Regions from separate parts of the Homo sapiens genome. Here region 2 is linked to region 1. The links are contacts of gene promoters, found by promoter capture Hi-C in human tissues and cell types (Jung and others, 2019). All regions are on one chromosome and are shown on one strand. Each heading gives the region's core, a stretch centred on a gene start or on the middle of the fragment in contact. The rest is flanking DNA. Distances are from core to core; before and after follow the strand shown.

What was found. The method cuts DNA at HindIII sites, captures the fragments that hold promoters and counts their contacts. A contact is called where the count stands out against the background at its distance.
Region 2: a contact is called between the fragment with the promoter of POLG here and the fragment with the promoter of TTLL13 in region 1, in 1 of the 25 tissues and cell types used here (stomach).

Annotation. Positions count from the first base shown.
Region 1 is chr15:90,246,471-90,251,661 of GRCh38, reverse strand. TTLL13 (tubulin tyrosine ligase like 13) reads right to left here and starts at 2,106. Exons shown (of 15, transcript NM_001396017.1): 1 at 1,854-2,106; 2 at 775-1,042; 3 at 68-108. The coding sequence starts at 1,031. It also overlaps a transcript of CIB1 not described here. The HindIII fragment of the contact is 10,980 bases long and covers 1-5,191 here.
Region 2 is chr15:89,333,574-89,339,066 of GRCh38, reverse strand. POLG (DNA polymerase gamma, catalytic subunit) reads left to right here and starts at 4,243. Exons shown (of 23, transcript NM_002693.3): 1 at 4,243-4,394; 2 at 5,154-5,493. The coding sequence starts at 5,313. POLGARF (POLG alternative reading frame) reads left to right here and starts at 5,258. Exons shown (of 2, transcript NM_001430120.1): 1 at 5,258-5,493. The coding sequence starts at 5,258. It overlaps POLG-DT (POLG divergent transcript), which reads right to left and starts at 4,580. Exons shown (of 2, transcript NR_186332.1): 1 at 4,213-4,580; 2 at 2,906-3,880. TRR-TCG1-1 (tRNA-Arg (anticodon TCG) 1-1) reads right to left here and starts at 3,994; the gene lies at 3,922-3,994. RefSeq lists silencers at 2,058-2,227, 4,185-4,784 and enhancers at 3,035-3,084, 3,425-3,494, 3,505-3,604, 4,474-4,975. The HindIII fragment of the contact is 12,446 bases long and covers 1-5,493 here.

The DNA.
Region 1 (5,191 bases), core at 857-3,356:
GAGGAAGAACAGCAGCTGTAGGCACCATGTTATGCACCACAGTGTGAGCGACGGGCTGGGTGCTTACCACTCTCATACTTGCAGTTGGTCAGGTTGATGGCCAGTGATCTGGAATGGAGGAATAGCATAAATCAGGAAGAGTGGGAGGGAAGGACAGGTACTCAGATGAAAAGACATCCAACAAATTCACAACACAATTCCTTTTCTCTAGAAGCCACTTAAAAGACAGACCAGGATGGGCTGGGCGCGGTGGCTCATGCCTGTAATCCCAGCACTTTGGGAGGCCGAGGCGGGTGGATCACAAGGTCAGGAGATAGAGACCATCCTGGCTAACACAATGAAACCCTGTCTCTACTAAAAATACAAAAAAAAAAAAAAAAATTTGCCATGCGTGGTGGCAGGTGCCTGTAGTCCCAGCTACTCGGGAGGCTGAGGCAGGAGAATGGCCTGAACCCGGGAGGCGGAGCTTGCCGTGAGCCGAGATCACGCCACTGTACTCCAGCCTGGGCGACAGAGCGAGACTCTGTCTCAAAAAAAAAAAAAAAAAGACAGACCAGGATGACATAAACAGGCTGGGATTCCAAAATGAGCCAGCCTAAATGGTTCTGAATTTTGTTTCTGTTGTATCAAAGGGTTAATGACACTCCAGCATTTCCTGTCCTCTTTTGTAGGCTAAAGGGAAGATCTGAGATCCCAGCTCCTCCAGATGTTGAAGGGAGGCCAATGGGTGACTCCCTGGAGCTGGGCAGTTGAGGGGATCTAGGGAATAGTTACCTGCGTTTCCGCCTTCTCTTCCTCCTCCCAGCTTCTAAGTCGCCTGTGTCAACTGGGGCTATGACTTTCTTCGGAATTTTTGTGGCCATAATGGGTGAGGGAACCCCATTTTTTAATGCCTTATAGTCAGCTTTTAAGAGAGCCTGCTGTGAAGAGTTAGAGGGGTTGGTAACTCCCTCTTTAACACACTTCTCAGATTCCTTTTCCTCAACATAGTCTTCCTCTGATTCCATGGTCCTACAGGTACTCGGCTCCATTCTCTCAGATTCTGAGGGGTTGCGGGGTGGGAATGAAGTGTATATCAGACCTCAGACCTCCCTCAGGCCCTAGAAGGCCTGAAGGAATCCACCAGAACGACCTTCATGCTGTTATAAGGGAAAGTTGCTGCCCCTTCAGGACAAAACTGTTTCACTGAGGAATGGGATGTGTCCAGGTAGGTGGAGGTGCATGGGGGTGGAAGACACCAGTGAGATGTGGATTCCCTGATGACAAGCCCCAATCATCCAGGTTCACACTGGATCATACAACGCACAGGGGTGCCTTCAGGAGTTGGACACAGATGGTATGGGCCATGACCATGGCTCTTTTGTTCCTAATTGGGAAAGAGGATGGCTGTGAGTGCTGGGGGGACCTTCGCTTTAAAATACAGCTGAATCGGCCCAGCACGTTGGGAGGCTGAGGCGGGCAGATCACTTGAGGTCTGGAGTTGGAGAGCAGCCTGGCTAGCACGGTGAAATCCCGTCTCTCCTAAAAATACAAAAATTAGCTGGGTGTGCTGGTGCGTTGCCTGTAATCCCAGCTACTCGGGAGGCTGAGGGAGGAGAATCACTTGAACCTGGGAGGTGGAGGTTGCAGTGAGCCGAGATCACACCACTGCACTCCAGCCTGGGCGACAGAGCAAGAGTCTGTCTCTAAATAAATAAATAAATAAATAAATAAAATAAAATACAGCTGAAGACCAAAAGCCCCCTACGCTGGCCCTTTCCCTCTCCCAGGACTCATTTTCTGCACGTGTACACACTAGGGACAGGCACCCGATGGCTAAGACCCTTTGGGCTGTGACGGTGGAGACTGCCCACCCGTGGTTACGAGGAGAGCTGAGGGGCTGCTGGGTCCGCCCCTAGCCGCCTGGGGATGGACTCAGCTGGCCGCTCATGTCCCCTCTTCCCCCGGCTCCAGGTCTCCCTGGGCGTTTCTGGGCGTCCGGAACCGCCTCCTCGTTTCACAGGACTGGCTGTCCCCACGATCGCGAGGGGGAAGCTGCTCCCCCGCAGGGGTTCACTCCTAGCTCCCGGTGGCCGTGGCTGCGGCTGCCGGGGCAGCGCTTCCTCTAGCAAGCCCGTGGCCGCCGCCGTTGCCATGGACACGAGGGCAGTTCCCATTGGAGAAGCGTCCTGGGGGCGGGGCTTTCCCGCAGCCACACCCACTTGGGCGCGGGCCGAGGCTACCTTGGGTGGGGGAGACAGCGTTTGCCCTTTGGAGCTGGCCGGCCTCGACGCCAGATTCTTCCGGTGTATCATGGGACTTGCAGCCCTCCCGCTTCGAAGCCAGTTCTCGCCGCACTCCCATCTTTCCCTAAACCCCGGGCCAAGGAATTTGGCCAAGCATATAATGAGGACAAATAGCTGTTTGCCTCTCCTCAATTCTCCCTTTTTTTTTTTTTTTTTTTTTTTGAGACGGGGTCTTGCTGTGTCGCCCAGGCTGGAGTGCAGTGGAATGCACCATCATAGCTCACTGCAGCCTGGACCTCCTGGGCTCAAGCAATCCTCCTGCCTCAGCCTCCCCAGTAGCTGTGACTACAGGAGCGTGCCACCACGCCGGGCTCAATTCTTTAGTAACTCTAAGTTTAGCTAGCAAAGCCTATGCATTCAAGAGTGACAGCCATGGTAAGGCCACGTGCCTTTCAAGGCTTTGCCTCTGGTGGACTGAGACAGCTCCATTAAGGAATAACCAAACCGCCTTATCACAGTGCTCCTTCACTGTCACCTTCTCTTCCTGACATCCACCCACTTTGATTTCTGCTCACCACCTCCACCCAACTCAGCTCAACTTGTCACCCTAAAATTATACTGTGTGGCTAAATCTAGAGAACACTTAAAATGTTTCCATCCTTTTAAAAAGACATGGACTTTTTTTTTTTTTTTTTTTTTTTTTTTTTTTTTTTTTTTTGAGACAGGGTCTTGCTTTGTAGCCCAGGCTGGATTGCAGTGGTGTGATCGCAGCTCACTGCAACTTTACTTAGCTTCCCAGGCTCAAGCAATCCTCCCACTTCAGCGTCCCAAGTAGCTGGGGCTACAGGTGCGCACCACCATGCCTGGCTAATTTTTGTATTTTTTGTAGAGATGGGGTTTTGCTGTGTTGGCCAGGCTGATCTTGAACTCCTGACCTCAAGTGACCTGCCCACCTTGGCTTCCCAAAGTGGTGGGATTACAGGCATGAACCACTGAACTCGGCCTAAAAAAGGCATGGACATTCTCTAATTCATAGACTGTTTTTGTTGTTGTTAATTGTCTATAAAGATAAGCTATTTCTTTGCCCACATATTCATGTTTCATAGTTCAGGAACATAGGTTAGTGATAAACTTCTATGTAATGCAACCCAAAGAAACTGTTTATACCAAAATCACTTTGCACTTTGAAAGATACCAGCCTTCCTCATCTCCTCAAAATCTTTCATAGAATCAGCAAGGCTAGGTGGCAGGCCCTGTAGTCCCAGCTACTAGGAAGACTGAGGTGTGAGGATCTCTTGAGCATGGGAGTTAAGAGGATGCCGTGAGCTATGATTATGCCACTGCACTTCAGCTTGGGTGACAGAGTGAGAACTCGTATTTAAAAAAACAAATATCTGGCCGGGTGTGATGGCTCACGCCTGTAATCCCAGCACTTTGGGAGGCCAAGGTGGGCGGATCACCAGGTCACGAGATCAAGACCATCCTGGCTAACACGGTGAAACCCCCTCTCTACTAAAAATAAAAAAATAAAAAAATAAAAATTAGCTGGGCATGGTGGCGGGCGCCTGTAGTCCCAGCTACTTGGAAGGCTGAGGCAGGAGAATGGTGTGAATCCGGAGCTTGCAGTGAACGGAGATCGCGCCACTGCACTCCAGCCTGGGCGACAGAGGGAGTCTCTGTCTCAAAAAAAAAAAGCAAACAAAAAAATCTTTGATGGAATTATAATTTCTCTAGAAATCTGCATATGCCTTCTTTCCCGGTTCAGCCACAGCAAATGTATAGAGTGCTACAACCCTCTATACAGGGATACAGCAATGTGAAACCAGAGGTCATGCATCTGAGGTTTCATCAAAACACTGGAAGCCATGGTAGTTATTGTCCTTGATAGGTATGTCAACCTCAACACCAATGTCCTTCCTGGCTGATGGAGAAATGGGCTGCCCGATTCACAGACTTCTTGATCTTTCCTCAGCATATGATACTCTCATATGAAACTCTCCTCCTGGCTAGGAGTGGCAGCCTACATCGCTAATCCCAGCACCTTGGGAAGCTGAGGCAGGAGGATTACTGGAGGCCAGGAGTTTGAGACCAGGCTGGGCAATACAGCGAGACTCTCTCTCTTAAAAAAAAAAAAAAAAGAAAAAAGAAAAGAAAAGAAAAAAAAGGCCAGTGTGGTGACTCATGGCTGTAATCCCAGCACTTTGGGAGGCTGAGGCAGGTGGATCACGAGGTCAGGAGTTCGAGACCAGCCTGGCCAATATGGTGAAACCCTGTCTCTACTAAAAATACAAAAATTAGCTGGGCATGGTGGCGCACGCCTGTAGTCTCAGCTATTCAGGAGGCCTAGGCAGGAGAATTGCTTGAATCCAGGACGCAGAGGTTGCAGTGAGCCAAGATCGTGCCACTGCACTCCAGCCTGGATGACACAGTGAGACTCCGTCTCAAAAGAAAAAAAAAAAAGGAAAGAAAGAAATGGTCCTCCTGGAAATGTTCTGCAGTCCCTTGACTTCCAGGACACTCATTGCATCAACAAACAATTTAGTGTTCTAGGGACTATTCTAGGACCTCGACCACCATTTCTTGCCTGAATTGCCACAATTCAGCAATTTTTTTTTTTTTTTTTTTTTTTTTTTTTTTTTTTTTTTTTTTGAGACAGAGTCTCACTCTGTTGCCCAGGCTGGAGTGCAATGGCTCAATCTCGGGTCACTGCACCCTCTGCCTCCCGGGTTCAAGTGATTCTCCTGCGTCAGCCTCCTGAGTAGCTGGGATTACAGGCATCTGCCACCACACGGGGCTAATTTTTGTATTTTCAGAGAGATGGGGTTTCACCATGTTGGTCAGGCTGGTCTCAAACTCTTGACCTCAGGTGATCCACCTGCTTGGGTCTCCCAAAGTGCTGCTGGGATTACAGGCGTGAGCCACTACACCTGGCCTCAGCAGTCTGTTAACTGGATTCCCTGATTCTA
Region 2 (5,493 bases), core at 2,994-5,493, 910 kb after region 1:
GCTTCCCAATCCTGAAAAAATTATTTGCATTTCAATCAATTTCTTTTTGACCTGTTCGTAAACTGTGTGGAGTTGATGGAACCAATTATTCCCCCCGAAATATGAAGCATGTTTTGAAAACAGTCTATGGCTATCATCCTGAATTCCACACATAGGTCACAAGGTCACATTCTCATTTTTTTCTTTTTATAAGTTTTATTTATTTTTAATTTTTTTTAGAGATGAAGGTCTTGCTATATTGCCCAGGCTAGACTGGAACTGCTGGGCTCAAGTGATCCTCCCATCTCAGCCTCCTGAGTAGCTGGGAATACAGGTACATACTGCCACACCCAGCCAGTTTTAAAAAAAATTCTTTATCTTTTTTAGAAATGGGGGTCTTGCTGTGTTGGCCAGGTTGGTCTTGAACTCCTGCCTCAAGCTATTTTCCTGCCTTGGCCTCCCAAAGTGCTGGGATTGCAGGCATTAGCCACCATGCTTCACACTTCTTACTTCACACTTCTTACTGGAGTCTATCTTCTCTCATCTGTAAAATGAATAATAACAGCACCTACTTTATGGGGTCATTGAAATGATTAAATAAAATGGTGCTCTAAAGCGTTCAGCCTGGTTCATTTGCAAGTGGTAGCTGTTGATAAAGGAAGAGTGGTGATATTTTCTGTCTGTGGCAGAAATTGCTGGAGTTGGGCTTGGCAAACCTGAGAGAAGACCATGAAAGTCACCAGGAAGTAAGCACACGAGAGGGACTCTGGAGGAGCAGGCTGTCACCTGAGGGCCCCTTACTTAGTCAGCAGCAGTGATGTAGGAGGCCACATCAGTGTGCACGTGCAGCGCCTGGCACACAGTTGTGCAGTAGGGATCCTCTGCTAGCATCATAAAGCCAGTATTTGCCGTGTAGTGCAGTTGCTGAGATCCTGGTTTCCATGAATTCAAATCCCAGCTCTACCAATGACCAGCTATAGGGCTTTAGGCAAGCTGCTTCGCCTCTCTGTGCCTTAGTTTCCTCATGGGTGAAAGGGGATAACGGTACCTCTATCCAAGGGTCGATGTGAGGATTCACTTAAGTGACATATGTGAGCCCTTAGAACAGCACCTGGCAGCTAGCAAGTGCCGGTTATTACCAAGCTCCAGGCAGGTCCTGGAATTGAGCTCAAAATAAGACACAAGGTCAGTCCCTATGGGCATTTACAGCAGTGGAAGGGGGAGATTTTTAAAAAATCATCATTAGTTACAACTGAGGTACATGCTTTGAAAGTACAGGGTGTTCTGGCCCAGCGCAGTGACTCAAGCCTGTAATCCCAGAACTCTGGGAGGCCAAGGCGGGTGGATCACTTGAGGCCAGGAGTTCCAGACCAGCCTGGCCAACATGGTGAAACCAGTCTCTACTAAAAATACAAAAATTAGATCCACATGGTGGCACACACCTGTAATCCCAGCTACTCCGGAGGCTGAGGCACGAGAATCGCTTGAACCTGGGAGGTGGAGGCTGCAGTGAGCTGAGATCACGCCTCTGCACTCCAGCCTGGGCACAGAGCAAGACTCTGTCTCAGAAGAAGAAGAAGAAAAAAAGTACGGAGTGTTTTGATGAGGACAGGGGTCCTAATGAACTTTGCCTCTTGCTCTGTGGGGGGAGAGGTCCAGGGAATTGTGGGAAAATGTAACTGTTTCTCAGGAACCACTATCAAGGACAGACTTTTCTAGAAGGACGTGGGGGAGTTCCTAGAAAAGGAGGCAGGGGAAGTGGAGGAGCTGGGTTCAGAAAGGCCTGGAAACAGGGTGTAGCCTGGCAGGAAGGGTGCAGGCCTCCAGGTACCCTCCCTCAGCAGGAATCAGTATCAACCGTTTTTGTCCTTGTTGAAGATTCTAATTCCAGGACCAGGGCACTAGGCTAGTCTCAAGTAGTCTATGGGAGGAGCAGGCATCTTGATGGACATCTCCTGAGACTGAATCTCAGGAGAGGCCAATCAGGCCCAGCAACAGCAGCCCCTGTGGACAGTTGGGCCAGGGGTTCTTAGCTTTTTTGTGTCATAGACACCTTCTTAGAATAGTGTGTTTCTTTCTTTCTTTTTTTTCTTTTTTTTGTTGTTGTTGTTGTTTTGGTGGGGAGTGGGGAGATGGAGTCTCACTCTGCTGCCCAGACTGGAGTGCCATGGTGCAATCTCGGCTCACTGCAGACTCTGCCCCCCGGGTTCAAGAGGTTCTCCTCCCTCAACCTCCCAAGTAGCTGGGATTACAGGCGTGCACCACCATGCCGGGCTAAGTTTTGTATTTTTTTGGTAGAGATGGGGTTTCGCCATGTTGGCCAGACTGGTCTTCAACTCCTGAGCTCAGGCAATCCATCCACCTCAGCCTCCCAAAGTGCTGGGATTACAGGCGTGAGCCACTGAACCTGGCCTAGAGTAGTGTTTCTGTTTTTAATTTTTTTCTGTGAAATATGTTTTATTAATTTTTATTTCAATAGGGGTACAGGCAGTTTTTGGTTATATGGAAGAATAGTGTTTTTAAGCACATAAAACATGAAGGATTACAAAGGACACCAAAGGTATTCAAATATTAGGACAAATAGGTAAACTTATTAACTAACAGGATCTAGTGGCAGTCTAGTAACCCCTGTTATTTTGAAGTACAGATAAGTGCAAACAAATTTTGAAAAATGTGCAGCACTTGTAATGCGTTATGAAAATATCTGTGGTTGCTGGAGGGGACAAAGTCACAGGCACTGTTAATACCACTGTGGCTGACAGCCTATGCTCATAATTGGAGGAAATGCCAAGTATCAGTAGGCGGTTAGAAGAAACAAGATGAAAATGTTTTCCCCATTCAGGGACTCCCTGATTTAAGCTGAGAGCCTCTCCTTCCAGTATTTTGTAAAAGTCAACAGTTATGTGAAAAAAAAAAAAAAAACAGATGAATTTCTGATTGATTGTATTTTTTTGGCAAAACAAAAAAATCACAAACATTAAAACATTGTGTATATTAAGTACATCTAGAAAAGTGTATGCAAAATATTTCATATTTAAATAGAAGGGACCAGGGCTCAATGCTGCTTGGCCCGGGGCTTCTCTCTACCTCTCCACGTGGCGGGAGCAGGTGAGGGTCGGCATCAGCCCGCAGGGCCGGCGGAGGATTGTTTCCCTGCACCCCACTCCTTAAAAACGCGAAAGTCAACTTCTGTAGTCCGTTCACGGTGTCCTGGGATCCACGCTGGACGGTGGCGGCCGACTTTCAGCTTGACCTGAATTTTATTCCTAATCAGCTGTGTGATCTCGGTTGGTCCCAAACGTCTCTGAGCCTCCCTTTCATCTGTGCAGCTGGGCCTCCAGACCCCAACCCCCAGGCGGTGCTTAATCACGTAGACCTTATTCTGCGTGCACTTTACCACAGTTCACCAACCACCGAGCGCTGAGAGCTGTTGAAGCACCTGGAGCAACACAAGACGGATGCGGAGACTGGAAACAGCTGGGGAAGGGGACAAGCTCCAGCCGCGCTGTGGGCCGGAGGCTAGCATCTGCGGGCAAATTCAGGTTCAACGGAAGGCAACATTTTTACCCCTCAGAATTGCTCTGGACGAGGAGGCAGCACCGGATGGGCGAGGGAGGGAGCCTCGCTTTGGCTGCGAGCCCCAACTCTTGCCAACCATCAATTGAGTATAAATTGAGATTTCTGTACAGGATGCCCCTCCCTCTCCACTTTCCTCCACCTGCGTCGGGGTGCGAGAGACCTGGTACATTTTAGAAATGTGCCTCCGCTGAGACACGTAGGCGGGCAATCTCGCAGGGACTTGCTGGGCGTGGTTACTTCCGCGGATCTTGGCGTTCCCACATCTTTGAAGTGCGGTGGGAATCGGCGGCGACTACGTTCACATTGTCCCAATACTTCGTTCCTGAGGGAGGAATAAACTAAAAGTTAATCATAACCTCCCTTCGACCGCGGCAGGACTCGAACCTGCAATCTTCTGATCCGAAGTCAGACGCCTTATCCATTAGGCCACGCGGCCCGTCGGTTGTTACCGTCTCTTGAGCAACTTATAAAAACGTCACCTCCGCCCACCAGCTAGCTCGGGACCAATCCACCTGCTCCTTGAGAAGGGGAGGTTGGCCTTTGGTTCGCGCGTTCCGCAGGGAGAGCCCACCCAGAAGTCCCCCTTCTCCCCCCGCGGGCGGACCGCTCCATTGGCGGCCCTCCTATTGGTCGCGCTGGGAGTCTCCCGCTTGCCTCTCGGGTAGCCGCGGGACCTAGCTGGGTGCAGACGGGAAGTTGCGGCTGCCAGCGAAGCGGACCGGCCGGGTGGAGGCCACACGCTACCCCGAGGCTGCGTAGGCCGCGCGAAGGGGGACGCCGTGCCGTGGGCCTGGGGTCGGGGGAGCAGCAGACCGGGAAGCACCGTGAGGACCGAGGTTTCCGGCGGGGTCGGCGGCGGGGAGGCCGGGTCGCTGAGCGACGGCGCGGCCCCTCCCTCTCCAGTCAGGGAGCGAGGCCCGGAGCAGGGCGGCGGCTAGTCCCAGGGCGCACCGCGGCGCCTCTGCCGGGCGCAGGCGGGCGGCGGGGCGCACGGGGGTGGCCGCCGACTCCTCCTGCAGGACGCTCTCGGCCGGGTGGGCCGTGGTCCGGGTGTGGGTGTGGGTCCCGGGGGACGGCGGCCCACCCTGCGGGTTCGAATCCGGGCGCTGGCACCTCTCGACGCTAGGCCCGCGCCGGTCGCGGTAATGGCAGCCACCATTTGCCGAGCGCTTGCCAAGAGCAGGGCCGCACGACATAGGCGCCCTGTGTCCCCCAGACAGCAGCCCGGTGTGACAGGCAGAATCCGTAATCCCATTTTACAGAATAGGATATCAGGGCCTAAGGAGCTTTGCCCAAGGTCACACAGCTCGAGAGAGCCAGAAGCGGGGTTCAAAACCGCGTCGCCCTACTCCAGATACTGCTCTCTTACTCGCTGCCCTCGGCTTCCCCACGTGGGTTCACTGACGAAGTTGCGTGGACCCCGGTTCCCCCAGGAGGGGTATTGACGTTTCCCAAGTTTTGAGGCTTAACGGAAAATGCAACTGAAGCGCCTGGCACAGTGTTGGGGACGCAGTAAATGCTCAAGGAATGATGATTATGGATACACCTATTACATATATGGTAAAATAACGCTTTATATCATCTGTCTCCTTTAGGATTTGGGGTGGAAGGCAGGCATGGTCAAACCCATTTCACTGACAGGAGAGCAGAGACAGGACGTGTCTCTCTCCACGTCTTCCAGCCAGTAAAAGAAGCCAAGCTGGAGCCCAAAGCCAGGTGTTCTGACTCCCAGCGTGGGGGTCCCTGCACCAACCATGAGCCGCCTGCTCTGGAGGAAGGTGGCCGGCGCCACCGTCGGGCCAGGGCCGGTTCCAGCTCCGGGGCGCTGGGTCTCCAGCTCCGTCCCCGCGTCCGACCCCAGCGACGGGCAGCGGCGGCGGCAGCAGCAGCAGCAGCAGCAGCAGCAGCAGCAACAGCAGCCTCAGCAGCCGCAAG